Regions from separate parts of the Homo sapiens genome. Here region 1 is linked to region 2. The links are contacts of gene promoters, found by promoter capture Hi-C in human tissues and cell types (Jung and others, 2019). All regions are on one chromosome and are shown on one strand. The core of a region is centred on a gene start or on the middle of the fragment in contact, and the rest is flanking DNA. Distances in the headings are between cores, read along the strand shown. Region 1 overlaps PTPN3 (protein tyrosine phosphatase non-receptor type 3). Region 2 holds the start of PTPN3 (protein tyrosine phosphatase non-receptor type 3).

Region 1 (3,641 bases), core at 129-2,628, 34 kb before region 2:
CGTAACCGGGAGGTCATAACTATCGCTGAATAACCTGTAACATAAAATATACCTGTTAGTGCTTTAATATGCGAATTGTCAGTTACTTGTGAGTGCAGATACCTGTCAGATCCCATCCTCTCGATACTGTCTGACGGACTCACAGATAATGAGAACTACATAGCAGATCATGTTTCCAATTGAGTTTTGACTTCTAAGATGCTCTAAGCAATATGTATTGCTAAATTGTACGTTCACAGAATTACGTGGCTTATTTGCATGTCTTATTAACTCCCTGGTCTGAGTCTTCTAATTTATATTTCCCAGGCTTTTAAATTTTTATTTATGTTTCACAATTTTATGTATTTGTGTTCTACCTCTAAGGTTTTACAGAACTAAACATGGTATAAATATGATTTCAAATGTGAAAAGACTCATTGATAAACTGATATTAAAATTAAGGACCTCTATTCATTGAGAGACACCATTTAGGGCAGCAAAAAGGCAACCGATAGAGTGGGAGGAGATAGTCGCAATATATACATCTGCCAAGAATATATGGAGTGCTCCTGCTAACCTAGTGAGAGGAAGTAACAGAAAACTCCTTAGAAAACAGGAAGAAAACAAAAACAGGTACTCAACCATATTAGCTGTCAAAGAAATGCAAATTAAACCCACAAAGCAATAGTACCACACACCCACCAGAGAACCCCTATGATTCAAGACTGGCAAAACCACGGAGGGTGTGGAGCAACCAGAACTCTCACATGCTGCTGGTGAAAGCATAACTCAGTGCAACCACTGTACGATGGAAAACTGCTGAATAGTATCTACTAAAGCTCAACATATGCATTTATTGTGATAGAACAATTTCAGTCATGGGCACATTCCCAGCAGAAAAATGTATATTCACTCACTAAAAGACATGTACCAGCATCTTGTGGGAGCTAAACTTTGAGAACATATGGACACAAAGAAGGGAGCAATAGCTACCAGGGCCTACGTGAGGGTGAAGTGTGGGAGGAGGGTGAGGATTGCAAAACTACCTTTCGGGTACTATGCTTATGACGCATTTGACAAAATAATCTGTACACCAAATCTCCAAGACACTCAATTTACCTATATAACAAACCTGCACATGTACTCAGAACTTGTAAGCTAAAAAAAATTTTTTTTAAAGTCACGACAATTCAAAGATTTGGACCAAAATATGTATCTAATAAAATCATAATTTATAACAACAACAAAAAAGAATATTCATAATAATCCTAAGCTGGAAAAGACCCCATTTATCAAATGTGGAACGGATAAACTGTGGTACAGTCATACCATATACTACTATACAGCAAAAGAAAGAAATGAACTACCATTACATGCAAAACGTGAATCAATTGCTTTAACATTGAGCAAAAGATATGAGACACAACAGATTATCTGCTGCATGATTCCATTTATGTAAAGTTTACAAACAGGCAAAACTAATCAATGCTGATAGAAGAAAGGATAATGGTTACCTTTGTGTGTAGTGAGGGGAAGGGGGAGATGCATTTTCTGAGATGCTTTTAACATTCTATTTCGTGATGTGGGTGCTAATGACACTGGTGTACTCACTTTGTGACAATTTACCAAGCTCTACATTTATGATTTGTGTACTTTTCCATATGTATGTTTTAATAACAAGTTTACTTTTTTGAAAAAGAGAGTATAATATTTATGAAGAGAGAATTAGAGGGCATTCAAAATCTGACCATGATATTAGGGAACAGTAAGGAAACTGGTTTAACCGGTGATTTCAATGGTGGAGAGGTAGGCAAAAAGACTGGAAAGGTGTGCAACTGAGGACATGACTATATCACGTAGGTGGGAGGATCTAGGCTTCTACAAAGAATACATGAAGCAGCCGGGCACGGTGGTTCACGCCTGTAATCCCAGCACTTTGGGAGGCCGAAGCGGGCGGGTCACCTGAGGTCAGGAGTTCGAGATCAGCTGGCCAACATGATGAAACCTCATCTGTACCAAACATACAAAACTAGCCAGGCATGGTGGCATGCACCTCTAATCCCAGCACTTTGGGAGGCTGAAGCAGACGGATCACCTGAGATCAGGAGTTCGAGACCAGCCTGGCCAACATGGTGAAATTTCATCTCTACTAAACATACAAAATTAGCTGGGCACGGTGGCATGCGCCAGTAATCCCAGCTACTCCAGAGGCTGAGGCAGGAGAATCACTTGAACCCAGGAGGCGGAGGCTGCAGTGAGCTGAGATCTCGCCATTGCACTCCCTGGGCAAAAAGAACAAAACTCTGTCTCAAAAAAAAAAAAAAAAAAAAAAAGAATATGTGAAGTAATTCTACAAATCAAATTGGCTCAGGGAACGGTGAAGATATAACTCTGACAGTGTTGGGTGGAAGAGCAAATAAAGATGAAGGGCCTGAGAGTAAGTTAACTTTTTTTTATTAATTCTCCACAAACTTTCTCTGATGAGCTGGGCCTCTGCATAGGCTATTCCTTCTGCTTGCAAAGCTCTTTCTGCTCCTCTTCATCTGATTAACTCCAGTTCATCGTCAGTGCTCAGCACAAGCATCACTTCCTCTGGGAAGCCTTCCCTGGTCTCCCTAACCAGTCACAGATTTGTGTGACAGAGTTCACTCACTAGTGCTTACCCTCATTTCACACTTAGAACTCATGATGTGTATTTAATATCTGCTTCTCCCACTAGATGCGAAGCCCCACAAGGCTAGGTCTGCTTTTGCTCATTGTACCTCCAAACCTAGGTCTGGTAGAGTTAGTAAATGTCCGAATGAATGGAAGGAAGAATGAAATAGAAAATGAAGCTAAATTTTATAGTCTATATAACATAGACTATATAGCAGTACTGCAGTACAACAATACCGTATAGCAATACAACAGGATAGACAAATTTGACAGAGAAAAATGGGGGAGGGTCTAAGTAGAATGTAGCTAGCTACGGTAGTGTGCACCTGTAGTCCCAGCTACTCTGGAGGCCAAGGTGGGAGGACTGTTTGAGCCCAGGCATTAGAGCCCAGCCTGGGCAACACAGCAAGACTCTATCTCTTAAAAAATGAAAGCAAGCAAGAAAAGAAAGAAGGAATGCAGAGGGGAGGGGAGACAGATGTCCCATAGACCAGTGCTTCTCACACTGCAGTGTGCATACAGAGTGCTTGGGGATCTTGTTAAAATGCAGACTCTGATTCAAGTAGGTCTTGATAGGACCCAAGAGTCTGCATCTTGTCTCCCAGGTGATGACCAAGCTGCTGCTGCCAGGGTCCATTCTGGCAGACGCAAGTCACGGGTAATTGGAAAAGTAGCGCCTAATGTCAGGGCATGGCTAGAGAAAAGATTTGGGAGTCAGTACCAAGGAGTAGTAGGTGACTCAGCTCTTAGACGGATGTGGCCAAAGCAGATTGGAGGACTAAGAAACAAGCTTCAGGGAATGACAGGGGGCACCGGTTAGGTGTAGAAAGAGAAACCGCAATGATGAAAGCTGTGCAGAAAGTACATCCAGGAAGAGAAGCACTTGGTCTCATATCATTATATTTAAGGAGCTCCAAGCAAACCTCCCTTCTTCCTTAGATAAGGATAGAGAGTCTGAAATACTAATAAAAAAAAAACTTCCTGGGACCAGCAGTGCAAAGGAACTT
Region 2 (3,717 bases), core at 1,191-3,690:
TTTTTCTCCTGCTCCAAGCTGTCTGAGGGCCCACCACCTGTCTGGCCTGACCAGGGCCTGCCCTTTCCTGCACGGAAGTGGATGCAGGCAACCTGGATTCTCTGGGGTGCACCCCACATCCCCACTCAGCACTACATCTGCCATACAGAAGTTCAATAAATGCCTCAGCTACTCTGAAATGCCTTCAGTAACTTGACCTTTTATATTCCCCAGCTAATGTCTAATTTGCATATATGAGTCCTTTTTAGGAGATGGCAAATCACCAGAGAAAACGCAGGATCAATACAGAGTATTAGGCACGTTCTATTCTACTCTAATTCTCTGCAAATTGGTATTCCATTAACTGCATGTGGGATTTATGGGAGCTCGCTATAAACTAGAATATTTAACTAGAATGGCCTACTCTGTCAGATAATAGCTTACTGTTGTTAATTTTCAACTAGTCAATCTCAGAAAAGTTTCCAACTTCCAATATACTTCACATCTTGATTTAATCATCCGGAAAGTCATCCATATCAAAGCCTCCATACAACAAAGGGACAGGCAGCTTGATGCAGAAGAAAAAGACCTGCCCTTGGAACCAGGAGACTTGGGTTACACCCCAGCTCTACCACATACTGTGTAATTGGCTGCTCAGAGCCTCCATGTCCTCATCTGTAAAATGGGAGTGACACCAGTCTCACAAGGGAGTTGTAAAGATTAAATAAGACGATACAGGTGAATGTACTCTGTAAGTTCTATAAGGCTATGCAAAGGTTAGTTATTACAAAAGCACAAGATGAAATTCTCAAACAACTCGGGCTAATGACAGAAAGCAAGAATTAAATTGGTGGTTCTAAAGGGGTGCTGGGGTGGCATTTTGCTCCCTAGGGGACATCTGACAATACTGGAGGCATTTTTGATTGGAACAACTGGGGAACAGGAATTGCTACTGGAATCTACAGACCAGGGATGCTTCTAAACCCTACAATGCCCAGGACACAAAGAATTATCAAACCCTAAATGTCAATAGTGCAAGGCTGAGAAACCCTGATCTAAATAATCGCTTAAAGTTGGATTTGGGAGCTTTTTAAAACAGAAATCTTCCTAAGCAGGCTTTACTTTCTCCCATCATCTGCTTAAACATTTGCAAGATGGATCATCTTGCAAAACAGCTCTTTTGTAAGTGAAGCCAACTGCCAACTTCTGGAGTTTCTGAATGTATAAAACTGCTTTTAAAGGAGATGCTCTCTGATTACAATTCGGCTAAATTGTTTTTCCGAAGGCCTTGACTTCGGCAGAAGTTCTCCTGGGCACAGAGACAGGGTCTGTCACTCCACCACTAGGCCCTGAAGATGGTTTCCTAATTCTAATTTCCTCCTGAAATGAGAGCCACGAGGGTCTCTAAACGAATTAAATTCACATCACGCCAACTGCTTGCTAGCTTTGTGCCGGGCACGGTGCCAAACACCTCCACATAATTTATCCCACTTAATCCACTCAACAACCCAGCGAGGTGGGCATTATTACCAGCTGATTGCAAGGGAGGAAACTGAGGACCAGAGAGGTTAAACAACTTGCCAAGGTCACCAGCTGGCCAAGGGGGAGCCCAACTTGAACGGAGGTCTCCAGTTTCCAAGTCACAAGCTCTTTCCACCAGCTTGGAAAACCCAGGTGTCAAGTTGTCTCAACTTCCCATGAATTTTTAAGGCAACCGCAACTTCTCAGTAAGTTTAGGTAGCTGAAAATGGGAATTTCGGGGGGGCTGGGCACTCTCACATACACTCCCCCATCTGCAGCTGTCTCACCGCAGGTACCTGATAAATCATTCCATATCGTCCGCGGAACGGGGAGGATTTATTGGCTCTGGAGTTTCGTGCCAGGCCCAGGAAATGCCATCTTTGAAAGCCGAGAGGCGGATTCGCCCTGGGAGCCGAGCGCTGGCAGCCGCTCTCGGCTAGCTCCCCGCGGGCTGTGTGCCCCCTCGGAGCCCCGAGCCGGGGTCGCGGCGGCACGGGGTCCTCCGGAGGTGCCGGACGCACGGGCTCCGCGGGTTGCGCCCGCCCCTGCCCGGCTGGAGCGCACGCCCACGCTCCGGCGCCGCGTCCCGGCCGCCAGCCCGCCCCGGCCGAGCCCCACCCGGCGCCCCGCCCGCGCCCTCCCGCCCCGGCCCCGCCAGGTGAGCGCAGCGGGGCGCCCCCTCCCCGCCCCGACGTGGTGCGGGGATCCCGGTGCAGCCGCACCCGCCAGCCCGCCCGCGCGTCCGCCGCGCGCCCCAGGGACGGGTGGGGGCGGGGTGGCGCCGAGCGCGACCCCGGCCCCCGGCAGCCCCGCACCCTGCCCCCGGCCCGCTGGGGTCGCACGGGCCCGTACCTGCAGCATCCGGGGGCGCGGAGCGCCCAGGTAGGTCGCGCGTGCGGGCGGCGCGGAAGCTCGCTCGCGGCGCGACCTGGCCGCCGTCTGAGCATGCCCAGTGCCGCCCGCGGGCGGTTCCCGCCGGCCGGGCTGGCCGCGACGGGCCCGCGCGCCGGGCGGGGGGCGGGCGTCCGGGCTGGCCTGCGGTGTTCTCCCGCCCCCGCCCCGGGCTGGCGCGCCCCGACGCATCTCCTAGGGGCACCGGGGCTCTCCGCCGAGCTCCGGGCAGGTCCTGAGTTCCCTCGCGCATGCATGCAGCCATTCGTTCCACAGCCATGACTGGGCACCTACTGTGTGCCAGGCCCTCAGTGATTTCATGCCTAGGGAAGGCAAGAAGTCGGCGCCCAAAGAAACTTTGAAATGAGGAGTCTTGCACGACGGGTGCGCGGTTGAGCTGAGGTCCCGCTGACTTCCAGTCCAGTGCTCGTCCCTTGGCACTAGTAAGCTTCCCTGGTTAAACCTCCCCAAGGCTCGTGGGACCCCTACCTGATCTGTGCTCCTGCTTCCCACCTCCGTCTCATCTCACACCTGCCTTCCTGCGGATCCTAGAGCGCCTTTCTGTCCATCAAACACTCGAACTTCACTAACCTCAGGACATTGGCGCCCGCCTTTCCCTCTGTGGGACGTTCTTGCCCAGCTTTTCACGTGGCCGGCGCCTTCTCATTGTACATAGGTCCCCTCCTCAGAGAGGCCTTTCCTGACCACCTTCCTCGATTAGCCCTCTGCTCCTGACCACTCCGTGTACTCTGTTTTCTTCATAGCATTTAACAGTGATTTATCCATTTTCAGCAAATATTTATTGAGCACCTATTCTGGTTTTTCTCGCGTGGGGAACAAATAGACAAAAATTCTGTCCCCCAGTGGAGTTTGGGGAAAGAGGGACAGGTAACAGATAAACAGCAAATTAGCAAACTATGCATTATATTAGAAAGTGATAAGTTCTAAGAGGAAAAAGAGCAGGGTCAGGAGATTTGGGGCTGGAGGTAAGCAGTGAATTTTCAGTGAAGCGGTCGGATAGGGCCCTTGAGCTGATGGACGGTCTGATTGGGTGACACTGAGAAGGTGATAGTGGTATTTCAGCCACGCAGATAAGCAGGGAAGAGCATTCCTGGCCGAGGGAACAGCCAGTGCCAAGACCCAAAAGAGCGCCGGACCGCTTAGGGAACGGCAAGGAGGCAGAGGAGCAGATGAGGTTGGTCACTTTGGCTTTTCCTCCGATTTGTTTAATTCTCATGTTGTATTTCCCTCCTAAATGTCAGCTTTGGGGCTGTAGCTCTGCTTGTCTTTACTGCAGTGACCCCCCTGCAACACTGTCTGGCACAC

Evidence for each region. Contacts are between HindIII fragments. The study calls those that stand out against the background at their distance.
Region 1: a contact is called between a fragment that was not itself captured here and the fragment with the promoter of PTPN3 in region 2, in 2 of the 25 tissues and cell types used here (aorta and small bowel).

What each region holds. Positions count from the first base shown.
Region 1 is chr9:109,463,418-109,467,058 of GRCh38, forward strand. PTPN3 (protein tyrosine phosphatase non-receptor type 3) reads right to left here. Exons shown (of 26, transcript NM_002829.4): 2 at 1-34. The coding sequence starts at 17. Among named protein-coding and RNA genes, the nearest start is that of PTPN3, 33 kb to the right of the region's middle. The HindIII fragment of the contact is 5,519 bases long and covers 1-3,641 here.
Region 2 is chr9:109,495,867-109,499,583 of GRCh38, forward strand. PTPN3 (protein tyrosine phosphatase non-receptor type 3) reads right to left here and starts at 2,441. Exons shown (of 26, transcript NM_002829.4): 1 at 2,353-2,441. The HindIII fragment of the contact is 6,343 bases long and covers 1-3,717 here.